Regions from separate parts of the Homo sapiens genome. Here all the other regions are linked to region 4. The links are contacts of gene promoters, found by promoter capture Hi-C in blood cells and fetal thymus (Javierre and others, 2016). All regions are on one chromosome and are shown on one strand. The core of a region is centred on a gene start or on the middle of the fragment in contact, and the rest is flanking DNA. Distances in the headings are between cores, read along the strand shown.

What was found. Contacts are between HindIII fragments. The CHiCAGO score rates a contact against its expected background, and 5 or more counts as called.
Region 1: a fragment that was not itself captured here is called in contact with the fragment with the promoter of SCIN in region 4 in 2 of 17 cell types (total CD8 T cells and total B cells); the score reaches 5.6 in total CD8 T cells.
Region 2: a fragment that was not itself captured here is called in contact with the fragment with the promoter of SCIN in region 4 in 11 of 17 cell types (total B cells, naive B cells, non-activated CD4 T cells and 8 more); the score reaches 10.6 in total B cells.
Region 3: a fragment that was not itself captured here is called in contact with the fragment with the promoter of SCIN in region 4 in 1 of 17 cell types (total B cells); the score reaches 5.1 in total B cells.
Region 5: a contact is called between a fragment that was not itself captured here and the fragment with the promoter of SCIN in region 4, in 5 of 17 cell types (non-activated CD4 T cells, naive CD4 T cells, total CD8 T cells and 2 more). The highest score is 7.7, in non-activated CD4 T cells.
Region 6: a fragment that was not itself captured here is called in contact with the fragment with the promoter of SCIN in region 4 in 9 of 17 cell types (naive B cells, total B cells, total CD8 T cells and 6 more); the score reaches 9.3 in naive B cells.

The regions. Positions count from the first base shown.
Region 1 is chr7:13,232,097-13,236,306 of GRCh38, reverse strand. No RefSeq gene overlaps it. Among named protein-coding and RNA genes, the nearest start is that of ARL4A, 550 kb to the right of the region's middle. The HindIII fragment of the contact is 2,310 bases long and covers 717-3,026 here.
Region 2 is chr7:13,269,219-13,273,621 of GRCh38, reverse strand. No RefSeq gene overlaps it. Among named protein-coding and RNA genes, the nearest start is that of ARL4A, 580 kb to the right of the region's middle. The HindIII fragment of the contact is 8,784 bases long and covers 1-4,403 here.
Region 3 is chr7:13,148,640-13,153,232 of GRCh38, reverse strand. No RefSeq gene overlaps it. Among named protein-coding and RNA genes, the nearest start is that of ARL4A, 460 kb to the right of the region's middle. The HindIII fragment of the contact is 947 bases long and covers 1,414-2,360 here.
Region 4 is chr7:12,568,598-12,572,798 of GRCh38, reverse strand. It overlaps SCIN (scinderin), which reads right to left and starts at 2,079. Exons shown (of 16, transcript NM_001112706.3): 1 at 1,814-2,079. The coding sequence starts at 2,012. LOC107986768 reads left to right here. Exons shown (of 3, transcript XR_007060635.1): 3 at 1,418-4,201. The HindIII fragment of the contact is 5,456 bases long and covers 1-4,201 here.
Region 5 is chr7:13,288,688-13,293,111 of GRCh38, reverse strand. No RefSeq gene overlaps it. Among named protein-coding and RNA genes, the nearest start is that of ARL4A, 600 kb to the right of the region's middle. The HindIII fragment of the contact is 966 bases long and covers 1,208-2,173 here.
Region 6 is chr7:13,249,805-13,254,530 of GRCh38, reverse strand. No RefSeq gene overlaps it. Among named protein-coding and RNA genes, the nearest start is that of ARL4A, 560 kb to the right of the region's middle. The HindIII fragment of the contact is 621 bases long and covers 2,984-3,604 here.

The DNA of each region.
Region 1 (4,210 bases), core at 622-3,121, 660 kb before region 4:
GCACCATCCTTCTAAGGGGCTTTGCATGTAGTCATTAATTTTGTTCTATTTATGTGAGAATCTGCTTTAAGACTGTGTCAGGGGTAAGCAAGAATTTCCACATAGATGCGTCCATTCACTCTAAAAATACCTCAGACCAGTACCCAGGGGATAACCCAAGGCAAGAAGCACTTATTTTTTAGCACTGTGTGCCAAACAGTACAAACATTATCTTCTGCTACACAAATTACTTTTCAGTATGCTAAGGATAAAAATTACAAGCAACAGGCACTTATTTCTCTTTTTAATACTAGGAAAATACTTTAAATTTTTGCTGCTTAGAATTAATCACATCTAATCAATCACTAAATATACTAGCAGATAAAAAAATATTTGCAGACAGAATCAATTTGTGGTCCTATTTAGCATTAGGTGACTGGATATAAGGGAAAAAATCTTGAAACAAATATGTGAATGGAAAAAGTATGTTCTTGATAAAATAACTGCTAGGATGCTACTAAATTGTGTAAAAAAAAAAAAAACAAATAACATCTGATATCATCACATTTTCCCTTTTCCATGCAACAGTCTTATACTATGTAATTATAATTTCTTCAATCTCTGATGCAGCTTGATGTTCTGAACCAGCTCATAGTGCTTCCTATTCACGTACACAAACATTTACATATTGACCTAAATCCTCTCCCAGGCTGTTCAAAAAGGAAAAAGAAAAAGCTTTCTTTTTTTTTTTTTTCCCTTGGTCCCTGATCTCATTTTCCCAGATGGTATTAAAATTGAGTTCAAGCCAGCCTAGCACCTGTGTGGATAGTTTTTTTCCTCTTTGCACAATTTATTTTTAAATTTTCTTATAACAGATCTGTTATTTAAGAAGTATTTATACAAATAAAGAAAAATTATGTAAAAAATAAATGAAATAACTTAAAAAAACACATTTTAGTTTTTCTCTCTGCCTAAATTTTTTTTTGAAGAGCAATGAAAATAAACAAATGATTACATTATTCTGTTAAAGGAGGATTATACTATAACATCTTATGGCTGCTTAATTATGTAACTGGATAGTATATCATTCAGTAAGATTGAGTTCTGGAATCTAAATTATAGCAATGATTTTGAATTTTGATTTATTTCTACTATATACATGTTCCCTGTCATCAAAGAGAACTTTCATCTATTTGGTAAACAGTGGACACTCAGGAAGTACGTTTTGAATGAATTGAAAAGCATGAATGAGTTAATTAAGTAATACATAAACCATGAGGATTTTTAAGGACTTTCTTTTTCCTATGTACCACATCTTGAAATAGGTCTTCAGTCACTTTCTATGGACAAGGAGGATGCAGTAACAACTATGCTATCATTTTTTTGAAGGAGAGCAATAGTAAAAAATTAGAAGGCAATCTTCTTCATATGACAAGTACTTGTTAGAGAAAGTAACTCTCAGGTATCTAACAAATATTTAAAATATTGAAAAGAAATAAAGCAAGACGTAAAGAGAGAATACCCATGAGAGACTTTCATAAATAAAATATAATAGGAACGTTTGTGAAAAAAAAGGCTGAAAAATTAAGTCCAAATATCGATATGAATATAATTAAAATGTTAAAAGGTTTATATTTATTTATTATAAAAAATTAAAAGTAATGAGGAAATAATTCTTGGATAATAACAAATTGGACCTCTGAAATGAATAAGAGGCATAGGAGAAAAAAAGCCCTAGCTAATCACATTTCACAGTGGAAAGAAAAATGAATACATAAATACATCACACTTTCATCTAGAAATTTTGTAATCCCATTTTCATAAGACATTGAGAAGGCTTTTCTTTGGTGCCTTATTGTTTTTACTATGTCTCAAAATATAAGGCAATGAGATACTTAGAACCCAATAGCCCAAATTGAACTGTCAATAATTGGAAGGAAACTACTCAAAACTGACCTCACAACCACTAGCCACCACTTAACCTCCTCTCCATTCCCAGAAGAGGATGGTCAGGAAGAAAAGGAGAAGAATGAGGGCAGTAGTCAGAGAACCCCAACTTATAAGAAGTGCAGTAGTATTATGCTGAGAAATTGCATCTATGGGTACCCAAATTAAAGGGTAAAATGGGGATCCAAGAAAATGATTCTGAAAATGCAGGGGTGTCTACAAAATGGTGAGCGGCTGTTTGATGGTGGCTTGGATAGCAGAATTGCTGTTACCATCTTTCATGTCCCTCAGCAAGATAAATGGGCAATGGAGTCAGATGGCAAAGGTCTATCAAGGAACAGAATTCACCAAAATGTTAACAGTGCCTGTCTCCTCTGTAGCTGGATTTTGGAAGACTTTTTTAAATATCCATATTTTTCTTTATTTAAAATGATGTCAGCAATAAGAACATGACTTTTCTATACTCAAATAAAGCCAATTAAACATTAACATAGAAAAGTAAAAAACACTAATCTTCATTGGTCCAAGTAAAGAAAATATTTTCTTAAATATAAAAAAGGGCTTGGCCGGGCTCGGGGGCTCATGCCTGTAATCCCAACACTTTGGGAGGCTGAGGCGGGCAGATCACGAGTTCAGGAGACTGAGACCATCCTGGCCAACATGGTGAAACACCATCTCTACTAAAATACAAAAAATTAGCCGGGCATGATGTTGCATGCCTGTAGTCCCAGCTACTCGGGAGGCTGAGGCGGGGAATTGCTTGAACCCGGGAGGTGGAGGTTGCAGTGAGCTGAGATCGTGCCACTGCACTCCAGCCTGGCAATGGAGCAAGACTCCGTCCCAAAAAAAAATAACAAAATAAATAAAAAATAAAAGAGATTTATTTTTCCTTTTAAATTTATAATCTATTATTTTTTAATAAAATATTTTTCATCAGCCCAATTGGGAAATTGCTGACTTACGGACTACTGAAAATATAAGGAAATGTCCATATTTAAGAAAATTTTTATATAAATATTTAATTTAGTAGTATTAAAGGATTGTACATTCCAGTATTACATGGTAACAAAGTCAAGGCTTGGTAAAAAATGATTAAAGCTTTTGTAGATTATTCTAATTGGCATATTAATCAAAGTTCAAGGGATAGTTAGTACACTGGAATTCAATTTAAAAAAATGTGTAGGCAAAGCCTCTGCCTCATGAAGTTGAGAGTCCAGAGTGCAGGGTATGTTAGAGAAAGTACAGCACTATAGGAGTATGTAACAAAACAAACAAAAGGGACAGTCAGTAAATAACTACACATTCATTGATTATACATATAATACATATATAAAGAACAATTACATTGCTCAGTTCCTTTACACAAGGTAATTGGTTGACACGGTTAAACCAAACGATTGTCCTAGCTGGATAATTCTTTAGTACACATTAAGTGCAAAAGAATGAATAGTTTCTGCTTAAGTATTAAGAAAGGCTTACTGGTTTCTACTACATATATACTGTACACTTTTTATGTTCTTGAATGTATAAACAATACAACTAACTCAGCTAAACAAACATTTATTTTACACCTACCACACACAACATATTGTACTGTATACAAAATGATGTACTGTTTCTACCCTCAAGATGCTTTCACATCTAGAGGAACCTTGTACAAAACATATGACAAGATTCATATTTCAGTTTTTAATGAGATATCATTTGAACTAGGATAAGGCCTCCAAAGCTAGTGAAGGCAAGAAATACAAATTAGATGACTTAGGAATGTTTGAATGCTCTGATTGGTACTTTACATGTGGCATATCACCTAATCTCAATAACTGCAAATTAAGCGTTATTTTAGTCATTTTACATGCCAGAAAAATGATGCAAATAAGTTAAATAATGTTTCCCAGTTGATTTCACTAGGACTTAACAATTTTATTTTCCAGGGTTTTTCCACTCTGCCTCCCCAGTTTCTAAAGGAAATTTGGATAATTAAGATGAGTCGGGTGGCTTTTTCCCTCTCATTCACCATCCTTAGATATGTCTTCAGTATGGTTCACTTCCCAGATCACATAAAAAATCCTACCAGCGGGGAATAAAGGCAGCTGAATTTTGTACATAATGAAGTAAAAATTTTGGTTTGGGGAAAACTGGGAGTGTCAGTGGTAGAAAGTGTTAACATAGAAACAGAGATAATGAATATTATAAAATATTGTTTGAACTGGTATGGTAAATGAAAGTCTGGAAGCATAAATACAAACATGACAGCAGAACAAAATAATGAATTTAAATAGAA
Region 2 (4,403 bases), core at 1,089-3,588, 700 kb before region 4:
CAAAGAAGTTAAAAACTTTGAAAAAAAATTAGACGAATGGATAACTAGAATAACCAATGCAGAGAAGTGCTTAAAGGAGCTGATGGAGCTGAAGGTCAAGGCACGAGAACTACGTGAAGAATGCAGAAGCCTCAGGAGCTGATATGATCAACTGGAAGAAAGGGTATCAGTGATGGAAGACGAAATGAATGAAATGAAGTGAGAAGGGAAGTTTAGAGAAAAAAGAATAAAAAGAAACAAACAAAGCCTCCAAGAAATATGGGACTATGTGAAAAGACCAAATCTACGTCTGATTGGTGTACCTGAAAATGACGGGGAGAATGGAACCAAGTTGGAAAACACTCCAAAGGATATTATCCAGGAGAATTTCCCCAATCTAGCAAGGCAGGCCAACATTCACATTCAGGAAATACAAAGAACGCCACAAAGATACTCCTCGAGAAGAGCAACTCCAAGACACATAATTGTCAGATTCACCAAAGCTGAAATGAAGGAAAAAATGTTAAGGGCAGCCAGAGAGAAAGATCGGGTTACCACAAAGGGAAGCCCATGAGACTAACAGCAGATCTCTTGGCAGAAACTCTACAAGCCAGAAGAGACTGAGGGCCAATATTCAACATTCTTAAAGAAAAGAATTTTCAACCCAGAATTTCATATCCAGCCAAACTAAGTTTCATAAGTGAAGGAGAATTAAAATACTTTACAGACAAGCAAATGCTGAGAGATTTTGTCACCACCAGGCCTGCCCTAAAAGAGATCCTGAAGGAAGCACTAAACATGGAAAGGAACAACCGGTACCAGCCACTGCAAAAACATGCCAAAATGTAAAGACCATCAAGGCTAGGAAGAAACTGCATCAACTAACGAGCAAAATAACCAGGTCACATCATGATGACAGGACCAAATACACACATAACAATATTAACTTTAAATGTAAATGGGCTAAATGCTCCAATTAAAAGACACAGACTGGCAAACTGGATCAAGAGTCAAGACCCATCAGTGTGCTGTATTCAGGAAACCCATCTCACGTGCAGAGACACACATAGGCTCAAAATAAAGGGATGGAGGAAGATCTACCAAGCAAATGGAAAACAAAAAAAGGCAGGGGTTGCAATCCTAGTCTCTGATAAAACAGACTTTAAACCAACAAAGATCAAAAGAGACAAAGAAGGCCATTACATAATGGTAAAGGGATCAATTCAACAAGAAGAGCTAACTATCCTAAATATATATGCACCCAATACAGGAGCACCCAGATTCATAAAGCAAGTCCTTAGTGACCTACAAAGAGACTTAGACTCCCACACATTAATAATGGGAGACTTTAACACCCCACTGTCAACATTAGACAGATCAACGAGACAGAAAGTTAACAAGGATACCCAGGAATTGAACTCAGCTCTGCACCAAGCGGACCTAATAGACATCTACAGAACTCTCCACCCCAAATCAACAGAATATACATTTTTTTCAGCACCACACCACACCTATTCCAAAATTGACCACATAGTTGGAAGCAAAGCACTCCTCAGCAAATGTAAAAGAACAGAAATTATAACAAACTGTCTCTCAGACCACAGTGCAATCAAACTAGAACTCAGGACTAAGAAACTCACTCAAAACCGCTCAACTACATGGAAACTGAACAACCTGCTCCTGAATGACTACTGAGTACATAATGAAATGAAGGCAGAAATAAAGATGTTCTTTGAAACCAACGAGAACAAAGACACAACATACCAGAAACTCTGGGACGCATTCAAAGCAGTGTGTAGAGGGAAATTTATAGCACTAAATGCCCACAAGAGAAAGCAGGAAAGATCCAAAATTGACACCCTAACATCACAATTAAAAGAACTGAAAAGCAAGAGCAAATACATTCAAAAGCTAGCAGAAGGCAAGAAATAACTAAAATCAGAGCAGAACTGAAGGAAATAGAGACATAAAAAATCCTTCAAAAAATTAATGAATCCAGGAACTGGTTTTTTGAAAAGATCAACAAAATCGATAGACCGCTAGCAAGACTAATAAAGAAGAAAAGAGAGAAGAATCAAACAGATGCAATAAAAAATGATAAAGGGGATATCACCACCGATCCCACAGAAATACAAACTACCATCAGAGAATACTACAAACACCTCTACGCAAATAAACTAGAAAATCCAGAAGAAATGGATAAATTCCTCGACACATACACCCTCCCAAGACTAAACCAGGAAGAAGTTGAATCTCTGAATAGACCAATAACAGGATCTGAAATTGTGGCAATAATCAATAGCTAACCAACCAAAAAAAGTCCAGGACCAGATGGATTCACAGCCGAATTCTACCAGAGGTACAAGGAGGAGCTGGTACCATTCCTTCTGAAACTATTCCAATCAATAGAAAAAGAGGGAATCCTCCCTAACTCATTTGATGAGGCCAACATCATCCTGATACCAAAGCCTGGCAGAGACACAACAAAAAAAGAGAATTTTAAACCAATATTCTTGATGAACATTGATGCAAAAATCCTCAATAAAATACTGGCAAACCGAATCCAGCAGCACATCAAAACACTTATCCACCATGATCAAGTGGGCTTCATCCCTGGGATGCAAGGCTGGTTCAACATACGCAAATCAATAAATGTAATCCAGCAGATAAACAGAACCAAAGACAAAAACCATATGATTATCTCAATAGATGCAGAAAAGGCCTTTGACAAAATTCAACAACCCTTCATGCTAAAAACTCTCAATAAATTAGGTATTGATGGGACATATCTCAAAATAATAAGAGCTGTCTATGACAAACCCACAGCCAATATCATACTGAATGGGCAAAAACTGGAAGCATTCCCTTTGAAAACTGGCACAAGACAGCAATGCCCTCTCTCACCACTCCTATTCAACATAGTGTTGGAAGTTCTGGCCAGGGCAATTAGGCAGGAGAAGGAAATAAAGGGTATTCAATTAGGAAAAGAGGAAGTCAAATTGTCCCTGTTTGCAGATGACATAATTGTACATCTAGAAAACCCCATTGTCTCAGCCCAAAATCTCCTTAAGCTGATAAGCAACTTCAGCAAAGTCTCAGGATACAAAATCAATGTGCAAAAATCACAAGCATTCATATACACCAGTAACAGACAAACAGAGAGCCAAATCATGAGTGAACTCCCATTCACAATTGCTTCAAAGAGAATAAAATACCTAGGAATCCAACTTACAAGGGATGTGAAGGACCTCTTCAAGGAGAACTACAAACCACTGCTCAAGGAAATAAAAGAGGATACAAACAAATGGAAGAACATTCCATGCTCATGGGTAGGAAGAATCAATATCGTGAAAATGGCCATACTGTCCAAGGTAATTTATAGATTCAATGCCATCCCCATCAAGCTACCAATGACTTTCTTCACAGAATTGGAAAAAACTACTTTAAAGTTCCCATGGAACCAAAAGAGAGCCCACATTGCCAAGTCAATCCTAAGCCAAAAGAACAAAGCTGGAGGCATCACGCGACCTGACTTCGAACTATGCTACAAGGCTACAGTAACCAAAACAGCATGCTACTGGTACCAAAACAGAGATATAGATCAACGGAACAGAACAGAGCCCTCAGAAATAATGCCACATATCTGCAACCATCTGATCTTTGACAAACCTGACAAAAACAAGCAATGGGGAAAGGATTCCCTATTTAATAAACGGTGCTGGGAAAACTGGCGTGCCATATGTACAAAGCTGAAACTGGATCCCTTCCTTACACCTTATACAAAAATTAATTCAAGATGGATTAAAGACTTAAACGTTAGACCTAAAACCGTAACAACCCTAGAAGAAAACCTAGGCATTACCATTCAGGACATAGGCATGGGCAAGGACTTCATGTCTAAAACACCAAAAGCAATGGCAACAAAAGCCAAAATTGACAAATGGGATCTGATTAAACTAAAGAGCTTCTGCACAGCAAAAGAAACTACCATCAGAGTGAATGGGCAACCTACAAAATGGGAGAAAATTTTTGCAACCTACTCATCTGACAAAGGGCTAATATCCAGAATCTACAATGAACTCAAAGAAATTTACAAGAAAAAAACAAACAACCCCATCAAAAAGTGGGTGAAGGATATGAACAGACACTTCTCAAAAGAAGACATTTATGCAGCCAACAGACACATGAAAAAATGCTCATCATCACTGGCCATCAGAGAAATGCAAATCAAAACCACAATGAGATACCATCTCACACCAGTTAGAATGGCGATCATTAAGAAGTCAGGAAACAACAGGTGCTGGAGAGGATGTGGAGAAATAGGAACACTTTGACACTGTTGAAGGGACTGTAAACTAGTTCAACCATTGTGGAAGTCAGTGTGGCGATTCCTCAGGGATCTAGAACTAGAAATACCATTTGAC
Region 3 (4,593 bases), core at 638-3,137, 580 kb before region 4:
ATCTTGAGCTTCATAAAATCTTTCCATGGAGATAACAGTTTTCATATTAACTTTAAAAGTTACACGAAATCTATTGAATCAGTCTGTAAAGACTCAAACAGGTCCATGCTTTTTCTAATTTAATGTATATTAAAATTTTTATATTGGTGACAATATGGTCCAAAATAAACAAATTCATATTTGATTATATTCTCAGGCATTTAAATTGATTCAGAAAACTAAAGTAGAAGGTTTAATGTGCCTTATGCCTGAAGACTGATCTTTTAAGTGGTTTGGATGTTAATCATCAAGACAGCAGAGGAAGTACTAGATTTCTAGCAAAAACAAAGCTGTGGAATAAAAGCAAGTTATGTTAGACCTCTGCTGATTCCAAAGTTATTCTGTTGAAGTAATTTATAATGACCAACCAATTAATTTAATTTAAAGTAATCATAGAGCTGGTCATAATTTTTTGAAATTACAATACAGCATTTATTAATTTAGTACATGGTTATATAGCAAAAATGAATGTAATGCTATGTTTAAATTATTAATTTAAATAATAATGAAACTAGCCAACAGTTAATTACAGATCATGTCATCTTATCAATAATTAGGAATATAAAATGTCATCAAGAGCCACTTACTTTAGTTATATTTGCCTAATGTCTGTGTTTAGGCCCTGTTCTATTTTATATGCTTATATTCTCAAAATTATTCCTGAACTTGAATTTCAAAGGCCAAGAAGCTCTGTTTCAAGGATCGACATTCATGACTTTTTTTCAGAGTAGAGTTGAATCGCAAATTATAATAAAAAAGAATTGTGTATTTTAAAATGTGTTACCAATGGATAGTAAGAATATGTGTGACATTTGCTTTTTATGTATTTCAAATAATTTTTCTAAAATAATGGTACAATATTTATGAATAGGGTAGAAGTATTTAAAAACAGACATGGTCTCTCATTCCAGGAAGTGCTCCCCTGTCTACTTGGTCTTTTTCAATTTAAATTACCCAATAGCAACTTTTGTGAATATTGAGCAGAGTTGAAGAGAGGATAAATGGAGCCTGAAACCTAGGATGACTCATAGTTATTTGTCACTGTCTTAAAGCCAGTTTTGTCCCTTTTGTCATGGACAATGCATTACCTAACTACGTAAGTCTGAAGACAGTGTCCCACTCTCTCTAAAGATTTAGTTAATTAATTCTACATAATATCTCCTTGCTGTGCATTGATATATGACCTGGCTTTGTAAAGTAGATATTGGTGTTTTATTTGGCATTTAAAGTGGTACAAAACAGAAGTACTAGACAGAAGTAAAGAATGGATAGAAGCGTTAGAGGCTTTGAAATCAAATGAAACTTGGTTTAGATTGGGAACTTTGTTAGTTGTCACCCTTTGGCCAGTTATTTAAGTTTCTGAGATTTTAAGCTTATGAGATTTAAGATGGAATGTTGTACAGATTCAGTTAGACAGTTTACGTGAATTCTTAGTAAAATGCCTAGCATGTAATAGATGCTCATTCAATTATATTTATTACTCTTCCTAATTTTAAGCATAATGGCATAATCTCAGCAGAGATAACTTTAATACCTTCTAAAAAATGTCATTTGCTACTTTAGTATTATGTATTTCCCAGAGGAGCAGAGTCATAGTATGACCTCATCTTTCAAATCCCTTACGTATTCCCAACTAGGTCTACATGAGGCAAGGATATCCAAGCTCATGACTTTATTACTTCTAAATGTTTAGAACATTCACTTGCTCATTCAACCAACATTAATAATCACAACATGTCAGTTGCTGAACGAGGCTCTGCATATGCAAAGATTGAAGATAGCTCCAGTGAAGTCCCTATCAAGTGCTTGGGCATGCCATGAAGATGTTTTATTGTTAATTGTCCCATCCCATATATCTGGATTATAACAACTGAAGAGTAGGTACATGACTTTATGCTTCATTGAAAGTATTGTCTTCTCGACATGAATATTGCTTTATAATGTTTATTATCCAGTTGATTAAATCTTATATGCCATTATGAAGACCAAATAACAAATATATATTCTTCATACCTATGCCTTATTATTTTTTCATGAGTCAAAGAATAAACATTTATATTTTAATGCAAACATTTATTAGCCCAAAAGAATGAAAAAGAAATCTATAAGCCATCGCAATTCAGAGTAGAACAATTTATAATTTCTAAAATAGTGTTTATTATAACCATTTAAAGGAGAGAAGCTCTTTGGAAAAACAACAATGCATATAACAGAAAACTGTAAAAACAAAAATGTTCATTTTCATTTGCTTTAATAATGAATTTGAAAACTACTGGCAAATAAAAATTGGCACAATTTTCTTTTTTCTAAAAATGGAAGCTTTATCTAAAAGAATGCCTCTATTTAGTGAGTGATTATACTGCATGGAAGTATACAATGTCTCTGAAACCACAGATGCTTACGGGGTTAGGATTTTGGGCACATATTTTGTTGAAATATGCCAAATAGGTGTTTTTAAAAATGTGTTCCATTCTATATCCAGTCAGGAGCCATATTTGGTATAGCTTAAGTGTAAAAGCAAATGTCATAATAAGCTAGAACATTGTTTATGTTTTTCTACCTTGCAACTCTCCTGTAGTCAACACTGTCAAGAACTCTCTCCTTTCTTAGGAGAGTTGAGAGTAGTAAGTGCTGCCCAATGACCAGAACATTGCGTCAGTTATGTGTAAGTTTTGGCCTTATGACACAAGCATGCTTTGGGAAAGAAGGGTTAAATGTCACTGCAAAATGATTTCTAGTCACTTTATGCTTCTGGGGACAGAGGGGAGAGAGGGAAAAGGTGTATGAAAACATTGACCAGAGTTGATAAGCCAAGTCAGTGAGAAGGTCATGAAGGTGGTGAACTGTTCACTTTCTCCCCCAACCCCTAAACCCCTGACCATGTTTGGGCATTGCAAATGGTGTGATCAGGGTTTTTCATTCTACAAACTGGCCTACAGAACAAGGCAGCAATAGGGTTGATGGACATTACTATGTTTATAGTCTTGAAAGTTGAATTAGAGGTCATGATTTAAAGCAATAGTAAGAAATCAATGGTGCACAGCTACTTGGGCAGATGGCCACACCACTAAGAAAGCATCAAGGGTTCTCTCAGAGAAATGTTCATCATGCAATTCCTCTTTCCATCTTTTTCTGTTTTTAGTTTATATTCATTTTTCTTAATATGTATTCTATACTTTATTTTCCCCATTATTTCTTCCTTTTGTTGACATTACCTGTTGATTTATCCATTTATATTTTCATAATAAAAAAACTTAATCCTTAAGTTTATTTTGTTTAAATAATCTGCTATATCGAATATTATATATCAATAATTTATATGAATGCATGATTTTTGTATATTTAGTTGCACTCCATGTATGAGTCCTATTAGAATTGATTTTAATAGAGTATTAAAAGATAGACTTTGGTAGATTTTCATTAAATTTACAAAAATTTGAAAACCTGAACAGTGCTAATATTCAATCAAGCAACGATGTAAAATATTTATTCCCTTTGAAGTATTTCAAAGAGTTATTAAGGTGGCATTCAATGACTTACCAATAATCTTTTATGATATCCTCTTTAAAAAATATTGATGGGGACATTTTGAGGCACAAGTGAGTACATCTTGCTATGGTAGATATTCAGGGCTTATAAGTTCTAGTTTTGAATGTAACAAGTGATCATAGGCAATTTACTCACCTTCTCCAATAAGCTTCTTTATGAATAGACTGTAGCCCATGTCTAACTTATGTGCAATTCGTATCAGGTTTGTGGGATTATTTAAAACGATGCATGTAAAAGAGTTTAGGAACTGCAACATAAAACAAATTACTGATGCACTGTTGTTCTCTTATTAAAAAAAAAAAAAACTCATTCTTGAAGTTAGTTTTCCATTCTCCTCAGAGAAAACAGTGTGGTGTTTAAAATAAAGAACACACACACACACACACACACACACACAATCATAACACATTACTCCCCTCCTTAAAACATTTTAATGACTTGCTATAAAGTTTAGGAAAATAATAATACCCCTCACTATGGTCTACCATGTCCTACCTACATTAGCCAGTTTTACCAGTCTCTCCAATTTCAGCTCTCTTGCTCATTGTTTTCTATCCACAAAGCCCCCACTTCTGTCTTTCAAAAAACCAGACTCACAGTCTTCGCTCTACTGTGTTAAAAGAAAACCTGCAGAAAAGTTAAATGTAATAGAGTTTATTTGAGCAAAAGATGATTCATAAATGAGGCAGCACTCAGAAGTAGAAGCAGTTCAGAGAGTCCAGCTTTATAGACTTTATGATATATAATCCAAGATATATATCAATAATTTATATTTGGGTGTATTAGCTTTGCATTCATGAATTTTTTTTGGGGGTGGGGGGCGGTTTGAATGCATGGAGTTTTGCATGGAAGCTAAGTAGAGAAATCACCTACCCAACCACAGCTAGACATCTGCCTTATTTGGGCACAGTGTGATGAGTGGCTGCCTGTGATTAGAAGAAACCTGGCTGCTTGTGATTAATTACAACTCAGTAGTTACACTCCTAAGTTGGTTTTGGTTTGTTT
Region 4 (4,201 bases), core at 830-3,329:
ACATGTTATTGACTTCAGTTTTAGCATGTCTTTAAGATTATAAATGTTTCTGCCCAAACCATTTTCTATTATATTTTTGAAATTTATGGGCATCAAGTGGATAATTAAGTAGATAATTAAGTGAATAAGGTGAATCTGTAAACCCTACAAAATATAGTAGTTAAGAGGACAACTTGGATAAAAATGTATAGAATTAAAGAATTGTGTTCAAATCTCCCTTGCGGTCATCTGACAAAGTCAAACTTAACTGCTGTCTACAGTAAGATATGGCATTATTTCACATTTTAATTTACTCAAATGGCAAATGTGGCATTTCAAACACTTTCATTCATGCTAGATTTAAGTTCTGCATGGAAAGTCCTCTGTAAGGACATCATTATTCTATCTGGCATCATTCATTCTTGAACATGGGTTATAAAAGTTTCAGTCTTTTCTGGCAGAAAATACAAATAGATGACTGTGTATTACAACATTATAATAGGAATAACAGCAATGCATCAAGAAGCCAAAATGTGTTCAGAACTCAGGCTGAGCCTTCTCTGCCTCCTCAAGCTAACACAAATTTTTGACTCCAAATGTTATAATTAAAAGTCTTATCTTCATCTACGTATTTTTCATTTCTCATTTCTCAAATGCCTGTTCCAGGTGTTTGCCAATGTTTAGACAGTCACTACTCAATGTTTTCTATTATTTTGTTTCTTAAAATCTTCAAATGTTGGAAATTACAGTGTTGGCTTTCAGGGACTCAAAAATGTGTAAGTGTGTGTGGTTTTGTGTGTTTTCCTCCTAAGCTCAGGGATAAAACTAAACAAACACGAGTACTGGGCAGGCTAGCTAGTTTTAAAAGAAGGCAAAAAGGCTCAGAGAATCGGCATGTTGTTAGACAGGGTGTGCCCACTGGCACAAGACCTCCTGGGGAGAGGCTGGACATTCAGGATGTTTATGAGTAAAAGTAGAAGGTGGAAAAAGAACACACAAGGCCCAGTGTCCTGACAGCCTGGCACGAACGCAGCTCAAAATAATTACTACTGCTGAAGGAGCCGTTTCTGTTCCATCTTGTGTCCTTGCTAAAATAAATAATAAATAATAACAATAAAGCAGTCTACATAAATATATGAAATACCCATATAGAGCTATTTATTTGTATATAAAATATCTGTATTTTTTTCTTACTTCTATCTGAGGACGCCAGCTTCCGAATGAAGCGGAGTTTTTGTCTACCAGACCCACAAGCAGCATGGTGCGGGTAGAATCCTGTTTTAAAGAAGCCCAGAACAATAATTCCCGCAATCATAGAGAAAATAAGCCAGTGCCCGAAAGCAACAAATAAAAATAATGTGTGAAGAAAAAGAAAAGGACTTCTTCCTAGCGGCGGCAGATGCCCCCAGACTTTATGACTTCCTCTCCATCCCGACAGGGAAAGCAGGACTGAGTTTGTCGGAAGGTGAGCGGGGCTTGGCCAGAGACGGTGTGCGCTGAGGCAGCGGCCCTGGACAAGAGTGGCGTTTGGATACTTGACGGTGAAAGGGGAAGAAGCCAGTCACCAGCTCCAAAGTCCAGGAACTACACCTGGCAAAGGTCAAAGCCTGCGAGGTAAGTCAATTGCGGACAACGCCTGAGCCCCGCGTTTGCAGCCGGCGAGTTGACTTCGGTAGGGAGAAAGTGGCCGGCCCCAAAGGGCAGCCCCGTGGGGGCGCGAGTGGCTAGCTCAGTTTGCGGTCCCCTTTACTCCCACGCCTGCAAATCTCAGACCCCTACGCCCTCCCCTCGCCGGCCTTGGTGCGTCGGGGTCCCGCCGCCCGCCGTCCCTTACCGAGCCAGAAGTGCAGGTGGTAGGTGAAGCCTCGGCTCGTCTTGGCCGTGTGCAGCACCAGGTAGGCATCCCCGACGTAGAAGTCGCCGTGAGCGCTCTGGGGCACGGGCACCAGCTCCAGCTTCTCAATCCTCCAGACCTGCAGCCCCGCCTGCTTGCCCGCCCGGGCGAACTCTTCGTGGTATAGCTCCCGCGCCATGGCTCCTGCACGCGATGCTCCGGGGGACGCGTGATATCGCTGATCTTGGACTAAACCGAGAGCAGCAGGAGGAACCTTATTCGCCGCCACTTTATAGTGTTTGCCATCCGGGGAGGCGGCGCCCTGAAACGGGAGGGGCTAAGTGCCCAGGCGCGAGTTGACAGAGGAGACGATCGCTTCCCACGGGGAGCGCAGCGCTGGCTTCCAAGCTCCCACGCCTTGCCCCAGGCCAGGAGCGGAATCGGCGTCCCAGAAGTCTTGAGATTCAGAGGGAGTTTATAGTAACTCGTGCCAATGCCTCCTCCAAGGAAAGACATTTTCTCTAGCAATAGACGAAGAACATTAACGGTTAAAACTGCTTGGCACTCCTTTGTGCATACCCATCACTACCGTCCTGCATATTTCCCCTTCTCTCGCTAATCCTCTTATTTCTGGATCTCAGTTGTGCCTGGCAGGAGGGGTGAGGTGAGGAAAGAGCGCGCCAGCCCTGCAGAGTTGAGTCAGCGTTTACTCGGGTGGAGCAATACCTGTTCTTTCTGGCCCTCTAGAATAATTCTTAGAACAAGGCTTCCTCTGCTAATAGCAACACCTGCCGTTAGGCAGCAGAGGAGTGTGCCACATTAGCATGCTGGAATAATTTTAATACATCCTTCTTTAAAAAATGGGCTTTTTGAGTAACAAGCATCCTAATGATCAATTCTGTCATTTCATTGGGCAATCTCTGCATTCCTGACGACCAAAGTTTCTGTCTCGATCTTCCAGTTTGAAAATACCATGAAAAACAGCATGTCAGATTTCTTGGACAGGAAGAAAACCTGGAAGAATGGCAGTATTACCCCAGGTGACAGAGCTCTGTAAATCTCAGAGTTCAGGAGCTGTGGTTGAGCTCTCTTAACACCTGCTTCCTTTGGCCAAGAAAGATGAAAACAACAACAAAAACCCAGCAGCCGCCGTCCTGAGATGTTCTCTGCAGGGCTGTTTGTGGCTGTAATTTTATGCTTGGCCGGACTTCTGGGTTACCTGTTACCTAGCTTCAAGGTGATAATTTTCTTTGTTTTACCTACAGGTTTTGCTTTTGCAGCATGGCTAAAACACTATGGAATACAGATGGAAATTTTACTCTTGATTTGGCATTCATTTAACAAGCTGGTATAGCAAAGGATTCTGTTACTGAAAAAGGCAAATCACTCAGGATGTATAGAGTAAGAAAGCTGAATTTCATGCATGTAAAATTGTTTTCATTCAATTTCTCAAATTACATGAATCCCTGGAAGGTCAATAATAATGCAAAATTAGATTTTTTTCCTTAATTAAATTATGTTTTTAATAGGTTATTACATGACCATGGTAAAAAAATTAAAAGTACAAAATGTGTGCAATAAAAAATTATCTCCATTTCACCCTGCCACCCAGTTGCTTTCCCCAAAGGCAATTACGTTACCAGTTTCTTATGTATTTTTCCAGGCACTCAAATTTTGTCAACAAGAATATAGGTAATGTAGTTATTTTAAATTTTTAACAGAAAATGTAACATATAACCTTTTCGAATCCCCCCCCGTGTGTGTGTGTGTGTGTGTGTGTGTGTGTGTGTGTGTGTGTGTGTCTGTGTATCAACACACAGTACTCATAGAGCTACCGGTTTTTACTGACCATATGGTATTCCACTTTATAAACATACTAATTTATTTTGTCTATCTCAGTTCATAGTGTAGGGGCCAAGGGAAAACTTCCCCTCTACCCTCTGAAGTTTCACTGAAAAATCAAGTCACAAAAGGCAGATTAACAGGACAAATGGCATACAAATTTATCAGCGGGCATGGGGGAGAATCACAGAGTGATTGGCCAATATCCCAATGAGGTACAGAGGGTTGTACCTCCTTATTAGAGGAAAGGCAGATGGGTGATGTATGGGTGATTTGGGGGGTTAGAAAATGATTTTTAGGGGAATTCAATGTGTTTGAAGAACATACAGTGGCCTGAGACAAAGTATGTTAAGCCTGCAGAGCTCTCCGTGTGTGTTGACAGACTTCAGTCTTTCTTTCTGCAATATGAGTTCAGTTTGTGGAAAGTCAGGGAAGAGACCAGAGGTAACTGTTTTCTTCTTTGGCAAGTCGAGACTTTAGGCAGATAAGGGAACTTCAGAGAATACCTTCATTCTGTGCTTTGGGAAAGAGAGGATTGGTGAAGGA
Region 5 (4,424 bases), core at 441-2,940, 720 kb before region 4:
GGTGAATTAAAAAATCATAAACTGAAAGATAAAAGGGACTTTAGTAGTCATTGTAACCAGCCTTCTAAAAGTTTGCTGAATTCTAATTCTCAATTTTGTATTAACTAATAAGACAAAGTCATAAAACTCTTTCTTAAGGATGATACAGCAAATATTTCAGGCTTCTGAAGACAAGAGAGAACATCAAGGATATTATATAGATAAATATATATTTAAAACATAACTATTTAAAATTGTAAAAACAAAAATAGTCAGTGTACCCAATTTTGCCTGCAGTTTATTGGACTCTGTTTTATGAGGACAATTCAACCTTTATAATATTAGAAAAATTTTAGCTTCATGTTATAAATTGACAGAATTTGTTAAATTATAAAGAAAGAGAGGACTTCCTTGCAGAACCTTTAATTTAAATTTGTTCAAGTGCCACACTATCTCAAAGATCTTTTTCTGTAAAATACTTATATAAATTTGTGTTTTTGTCTGCCTTCCCATCAGATTTCATGACTGTTGGGCTATGCTTACTTCATCAGTGTTTCTCTAACATTTGTTACATTGCTTTCCATTCAATAACTACTTATTAAGTGAGTGTATGAAATAAAAACAATAACACACTTTTTAATCATAGTTGCAAAACTTCATAAATTTAGTATAGATACTAACCCTATTTCAAAGAAAAGAAATTGATTATGTATACTTGTTTTACAGTCATCAATTTTTGTGTCTCCACATAAATAGAAAGGTAGAATTATGTTTTATATATTTTAAGAATGTAGCAGAGCCTCTGAACTTACATGACCGCGGTCCAAAATCCATCTTTACTCAGATGGCTTTACAACTTGGGCAAATTACTTATATCCTCTGAACCTCAGTTTCCTTCCATAAAATACAGGGATAAAAACAGTATCCATTTCATAAGATATTGTGAGAATTAATAATATAAAATATAATGACAGTAGTTATAGAGCCTGAAACACAATAATATGTATTCAAGGAACTGCTATTATGTATACTACTGATTTGCTAATAAATTACATGTTTGCATAGGTTTGTCACTGTGATAATTTTTTCTATTTAGGTTTACAATTTTAGATTATACGCAACAAAGAATTACAAAACAGACCGATTAGATACAATCAAGGCAGAATTCAAATTTTGTCATAAGCTTTTCAACAAATATTTATTGCATATGTGCACATTAGAATAAGCTTTTCTGCAAACATTGTTTATTTCACTATCTTCATTTTAAAAATACAATTACATGTGTTACCAGATCTGAAATTCTTTCCCTATTGCTACTACTCACCTTGATAACTGAAATCCTCCATTTCTTTTCCCCCAGATATAAATGGAAAAAAGAAGGCATTCTGACTTCCAGAGAGATATATGAGGATTAAAATGTAGTTTAAAGTTTAGATACCACAGACATTTCCAAAGACATCTTTTTGTCTTTTATGCTGGGGATAGAGGCTTTTTGATGGTGTTTTTATTTTAAGTATCTATAGGCTTTTATCCATATGAGTATGATATAATTTTGTTCCTGCTGTAACCATTTGCTTATTCTTTTAATTGTTCCACTATGAAAAAATTTGATGAGTGCAAAAAAAAAACAAAAAAAAAACCAAAAAAACAACAACCCATAAAGTCCAGAAGTAAAGCCTTGCTTAATCATTGTAATCCACTGAATATACAACTGATAGTGTACCAGGCTGAAGATGTTGCCAAATGATCTATGCATGTTGAAAGGTATGCCAGCTTAAACCTTGATGGATTATTACCAATCCCCTAAGGGAGTACCAAATTTTCAGTGGACACCTGACAGCCATTAAGCAAGTCTGGCTGCCTAGAAATACTCACTCAGTTTCTAAGGTTGATGGAATGTCTGTACTTAGGGAAGTTGATGACATTCTGTGTCTAGCCCATTTTTCATCACTAGCAGAGTGACACATGATTTCATAATTGGTTCAGTATTATTCACTTTCCCTTATGTGGCTATGAACAAGAAAACAATAAAACAGCTGGAAACTGATTTGAAATACAATGTTCATATTCTGAGAAACACTTTACTTCAGTGTACATGCTGCCCCAAGCATCTCTGAAGTAGTCAACCAGGAAATGTGCCTTAGTGGTGATTACTTTGTCTTTATGAAAATGCACATACGGAATAAAGTAAGCTTCAATAAACCAGATTAAAGAGTTGGCCAAATACTAGGAGCTGATATATTTAAAAAGAATAAACACACAATTTAGCCTCAAAAGAAAATATTCACACAGACAGAGATTTAGTTATAATATGAAGATGATAATTAAAATTAAATTCTGCTACTTTTTAGTACTATCTCTATGGTTGCACTAACAAAGATATGGAAAACTGACAGAGATTTGTAGAAACATATTTCAATAGATAGCAGTTTGTTTCTTTAAACATTTTAATCCCCCTGTTAAACAGACATTGAATCCACTCAATTCAATTCAATAAACACACATCAAAGGCTTTCCATGCGTCAGGCACCAGTAAACGTGTTGGGAGCGAAAAAAAAAAGAGAGAGAGAGAGAAAATTCTTGCCTCCATGTATCCAATTATTAGGGCATCATAAAAATGATATAAATTACATACACAACCCTGAAATGTTAGTGACTAAAAATCAAGGACTACACAAATAATATTTTATGTTAATATCTTTAATGTCTAGCAATTAGTTCAAACAGATCCTCAATTAATATTTGTATTATGAAAGAAGAATTATAACTCATTAGCAAAAAGATGGTGCTGATATAGACCAAAATCTCTAGTTACTTGATTATTGGAGGCTTCTTATACATAGGGGAAATGAGAATGCCACTGATTCAATGCAACAGTCTTTTTTTGGTGATTTCCCCCAGACCCACTGCTCTTGTTTATCACCAAAATTAAGTTGATTGTCAGGTGGCCAAGAATCTCTCACTTTTGCAGTATTTTCCTCATAATTCTACATTTTAGCCACTGTTATAAGAAAAGCTAATTTTATAGAACTACTAGGAAACAAAAGACTGTTTTGTTGTTGGTTTTCTTTTTTTTTTTTTTTTGAGATGGAGTCTCGCTCTGTCGTCCAGGCTGGAGTGCAGTGGCGCAATCTCAACTCACTGCCAGTTCTGCCTCCCGAGTTCACGCCGTTCTCCCGTCTCAGCTTCCCAAGTAGCTGGGACTACAGGTGCCTGCCACCACGACCGGCTAATTTTTTGTTTTTGTATTTTTAGTAGAGACGAGGTTTCACTATGTTAGCCAGGATGGTCTTGATCTCCTCACCTCGTGATCCACCCGCCTTGGCCTCCCAAAATGCTGGGATTACAGGCGTGAGCCACCGTGTCCGGCCAAAGACTGTTTTTGAATTTTAGTGATGGAGAGTTCACTGCCTTCAGGTACTTTAACATTCAATATGGCCAGAGCTTCCCCACTAAACGAGTAGAGCATGGATCCAACAGCCAGGAAGAACACTTAGATTTTGTAGGATATGAAAATCCTGATGGCTGAAGCAGGGTATGTAGGGATCCAGTTGATTATGGATAGTAAGGACAGTGGTAATAATCATTGAGCATATCTTTTAAATGTTAGGGTAGACAATCTGAAGATATTTATTTTCTACTAATGATGTTTTACATAGGATTTTTGTTCCAAAATTTAATATTAGGAGATACTTGTCCAACATATGTAACAAAGCACACACAAATGTGTGCGTGTGCACATGCATGCATGCACACATACTATGTAGTTCTAGGCCTAATGTCATTCATAAAAGAAACTCCTAAAATGTATTCACAAATAATAAAAGACTATGGCTTTGGGACAGCCAATTTTTTTCTTTTTCAAACTTTTACGTATCATTCTCTAAAAAGCTCTTTGGTACCACATATAAACTGAGTTACATAAATTAAGACAATTAAGGTATCGTTTGAGGATTTATTTTGTGGGGGGAGAGCAGCCTCCTAAGCCAGAGTAGGCTCAGAGACTCCTTCATTTGGGATTTTCTGACAAAAACAGCAGAATTGTGAAGGATCATCTGGGGGTAAATTAAGTAGTTATTTTGCTAGTAGTCACTTCATTTGTGGGTGGCCAAATGGATAAAACTCCAAATGCCAAGGTGAGGATGGCAAAAGAACTCCTGGCAGAAAAAACTATATGAGCATAAGCACAGAGTAAGCAAGAAAGCATGTCATGTTCTGCAACTGTGGATATGCTACCTTGAGTTTCCCAGAAGATTTGTACTGGGAAAGTGTAAGGCTGGTCATATAGGTTAATATAAACTTAAGAAGAACCTAAATGTTTGAGTTATGGAATATGGATTTATTGGAAAATAAGTGAGGAGGCATTGAAGGTGGTTAAATAAAGTGCTGACATCATCATTTAGGCAAATGATTCAGACAGTAGCAATCAGGATATGTTGAAATGG
Region 6 (4,726 bases), core at 2,045-4,544, 680 kb before region 4:
GGCAATTTGCTTTACTCAGTTCAATTCAAATGCTGATCCTTTCCAGAAACATCCTCATAGACCCTCCCGGAAAAAAAAAAAAAGTGTCTAAAAAGATATTTGGGCATCCCATATGTGGCCTAGCTGAATTAATACATATAATTGGCCATCAGAGTCTGCTAGTTTCAATATTGGTTTCATATCAAGGTCAGACTTAGTTGATATCTTTACTTGAAAATGTTGTCCTTTTTTTATGTTTTTGATGTTTTCTATGTCAGGTAATCTGGATCAACTGTGGAGATTGTGGACTCTTGTTATTTTTCTGTGGTGACTGCTGCTTCTCCGTGATATCGGGTAGTTTTCTGGAGTAGGTTGTGCCGCAGCACCATTCCCTGGTCTAACTTTTTGTCTTAATTTAGGCTCCCTGCATTCTGTTTTGTGCATGTGCAGAGATATGGATACCCGGTTTAGAGATTCCTTTTGGACGTTCTCCGTCTACCCTCCTTCAAATGAATGTGCATTCTAACATGGGCTATCCGCTGCTGTTCACTCTCCAGGATTATTCGTGTGGCATCTTCAGTCTAAGCTTAAATATTTTAGTTTTGGCTGAGCGGCTTTGAGTTTGTTCCATCCATGCCTCCTTTAGCAATCAGTCAGAGAAGGAGATAGAAAGATTTTAGAGATACTCTCCCTGGGTTTTTTTCCATCCTAGATTTCTCCTTTTTTAGCATCTCCTTTTCTCTTTCTTAGCATTCATAATTTTTCCCTGTTTCATGTTTCTGTTTCACAGGATAGAAAGATTATGGGGTGAAGTTCCTGCCAGATTTATATTTTATTGTTCTACTCTTTACTGTCTACAGGTAGTTACTATAGGTACTATGGCCAGGTGAGGTCATCTGGCAGGGTCTTAGTCCTATCAAATCCAGAGCCATGATTTTTGAACAGTTTTAATGAGCAATAATGGGCAAATATTACAATTTTTTGAGATCTTTAAGGTGTACTATTTTAAGTAGGTGTGTACACCCATAAAATCACCAAAATGATAAAGATAATAAACATATTAATCACCCTGCAACTTTTTTTGAAATTTTTTCGTTCAGCATAATTATATTTTTTTCTTCAAAGCCCCAGCATAATTATTTTGAGATTCATCTCTGCCATTGTAGTTCGTTCATTTTTACTACTAAATAGTATTCCATTGTATGGATATGCTATAGTTGGATTATCTATTTGCCTGTTGATGAATATTTAGGATATTCCTACATTTTAATCATTACACATAAAGCTTCAATAAGTATTCATGTACAAGTGTTTTTATGGACACGTGCTTTCATTTTTCTTGAGTAAAAACCTAGAAATGTAATGCCTGGATTATATAATAGTTTATGTAAAAATTTTTAATAAAACTGCCAATTTGTTTTTCAAAATGACTGATTGTACCATTTTATATTTATATTACTAAAAGCAGTGTATGATTGCTTACTTATTTAATGTGGAGAGTTCTTTATATATTCTGTATAAAAGTCCTTCAAGAGATATAGAATTTGGAAATATTTTCTCCCAGAAAGTAGCTTGGCTTTCAATTTTATTAACAGTGTCTTTCGAAGAGGAGAAATATTTTATTTTGATAAAGTTTAATATATTAAATTTTTCTTTAAGAATCATACTTTGTTATAGTTAAAGATCTTTGCATAAAGATCAAAGATAGTTTATTGTATATTTTATTCTAGAAGTTTTAGAGATTTGTGTTTTATATGTAGGTATACAACCTACTTTGAATTATTTTTTGTATATGGTGGCACATAGGTAATGCAGTTCTTTTTACATTTTAACATATGGACATCAATTATTCCAGATGGTTCACTGAAAAGGCTATTCATTTTCCATTTGTTATCCAATTTTGTGAAAAATCAGTTGTCCAAATATTAGTGAGAATATTTATGGACTCTATTTTCTTTCATTTCTTTTTCTATCTTTATGCTAATACCACATTCTTTTAATTATCAAAACTGTATAATAACGCCTGACATCACAGCGTGTAGTATTACTTCTTTAACTTTGTTCTTCACTTGCAAAGTTGATTTGGAACCACCATGAAAAATTCACCAAATTACAGAAGATAGCAAGAGAGAAAGAAAGGAAAAAATGATGTATTAAATAGTTAGAAAACAATTAACAAAATGGCATTAGTAAGTCCCTGCCTATTAATAATTACTTTACATATAAATGTATTAAGTTCTCTAAAGACATGGAGTAGCTAAATGAATAAAAGAAAAACCAAATGATATTCTGCCTACAAGAAACTCACTTTAGCTTTAAGGGCACACATAAGCTAAAAGTGAAGGGGTAGAGAGAGATATTGCATACAAACAGTAACCAAAAGAGAACAGAGGTGGTCATACTTAACATTAGATAAAAAAAGACATTAAGTCAAAAATTGTCATGATACAAAGAAAGGTATTTTATAATGATAAAAGGGTCAATTCATCAAGAAGATATAAAAATTACAGATATTGATGCACTCAACATCAGAATGCCTAAATATGTAAAATAAATACTAACAGAAATGAAGGAGAAATAAATAGCAATGCAACAACAGTAGAGAATCTCCACACCCTACTCTCAACAATGGATAGAACATCCATCCAGGCACAAAATCAAGGAAACAGCAGATTTGAACAACACTGTAGATCAAATAGACCTAACAGACATATACAGAAAATTTCACCCAACAGAAGCAGAATATACATTCTTCTTAAGTGAACACGAAACATTCTGCAAAAACAAGTCTTAACAAATTCAAGAAGATTGAGCTAATATTAAGCATATGTTCTGGGCACAATGGTATGAAATAGGAAATCAGCAATAAGAGGCATTTAGTAAAAGTCACAAATACGTAGAAAATTATATAACTTCTAAACAACCAACGGATCAAAGAAGAAACCAAAAGAGTAATAACAATATATTGAGATAAATTAAAATGTAAATACAACATACCTAAGCTTATGAGATGGCAAAAATAGTCAGAAGAGGGAGGCTTATTAGCCTACACGATTTTTAAAAACTCAAATAAACAACCTGTCTTTACACATTAAAAATCTAGAAAAAGAAGAATAAACTAAACTCAGGCTGGCAGAAGACAGGCTGTAGTAAAGATTAGAGTAGAAATAAATAAAATGGAGAATAGGAAAGCAACAGAAAAAATTGACAAAACTAAGACTGGTTTGTTGAAAAGATAAACAAAAATACAAACCTTTAGCTAGACTAATCAAGAAAAAAGAGAAAATACTCACATAAACAGAATTGTATATAAAAGAGAAGACATCACAACTGATAATACAGAAATACAAAGAATCATAAGAAATGAATAATTATACTCCCCATAAGTTGTATAACCTAACAGAAATAGATTCCTAGCAACATGCAACCTACCAACACTGAAGAAATACAAAATATGAATAGATCAATAACAACATATTGATTCAGTATTCAAAAATATCCCCAGGAATAAAAACCTAGGACCAGATGGCTTCCCTTGTGTGTTCTATTACACATTTAAAGAAGATTTAATGTCAACTCTCAAACTCTTTCAAAAAAATTCAAGAGAAGGGAATGCTCCCAAGCTTATTTTATATGGCCAGTGTTACCCTGACTCCAAAATCAGATTAGTACACTAAAAGAAATGAGATTAAAAGTCAATATTACTGATAAACTTAGGTGTAAAACTTCTCAAAAAATAATGTCAAACCAAATTTAATGATGACCATTAGACAGTACACCATAATCAAGTGGGATTTATCCCTGGGATGCAAGGATAATTCAATATATGCAAATCAATAAATGTGCCATACTACATTAACACAATGAAGGATAATCTGATCATCACAATATATGAAGAAAAAGCAGCTGACAAAATTCAACATTGTTTCATAACAACTCTCAACATACTAGGTATGAAGAAATTTACTTCAACATAATAAAGGCTATATATATATATGTAATCTCTAGTTAATATCATGCTCACTAGTAAAATGAGGAAAGCATTTTCTCTAAGTAAAGAGTAAGACAAAGATGCCCACTCTCAGTTTCTATTCATGATTGTTCTAGAAGCCCTAGCAAGAGCAATTAGGCAAGAAAAAAGAAATATGCAAATCCGAAGGGAAGAAGCAAAATTGTCTGTTTACCAATGACACTGTGTTATTTATAGATAACCCTAAAAACTTCACCAAAAAACTGTGAGAATACATGAATCTAGTAAAGTTGGAGGAATAAAAAAAATACAAAAATCAGTAGCATTTTTATACACTGAGTTACCTGAATATGAAATCAAGAAAACAATCCCAGATACAATAGGTTAGAAAACAATAAAATACTGAGAAATCAATTTAACCACGGAGGTTATAGACTTTATAAAGCTGATATACTAAAAATTATAAGACACTGATAAAAAAAAGTTGAAAACAAAATAAACAGAAGCCTATTCTACGTTAATGGATTAGAAGAATTAATAATATTAAATATCCATGCCTCCAAAGCAATCTATTAAATGCAATCCCTAAAAATATTCCAATGGCATTTTTTTTAAGGAAATAGAAAAAACAATTCTAGAATTTGTATAGAAGCACGAAAGACTTCAAATAGCCAAAGCAATCTTGAGAAAGAATAAAGCCAACAGCATCACACTTCCTGATTAAAACTATATTACAAAACTATAGTAATCAAAATAATACGGTACTGACATAACAAC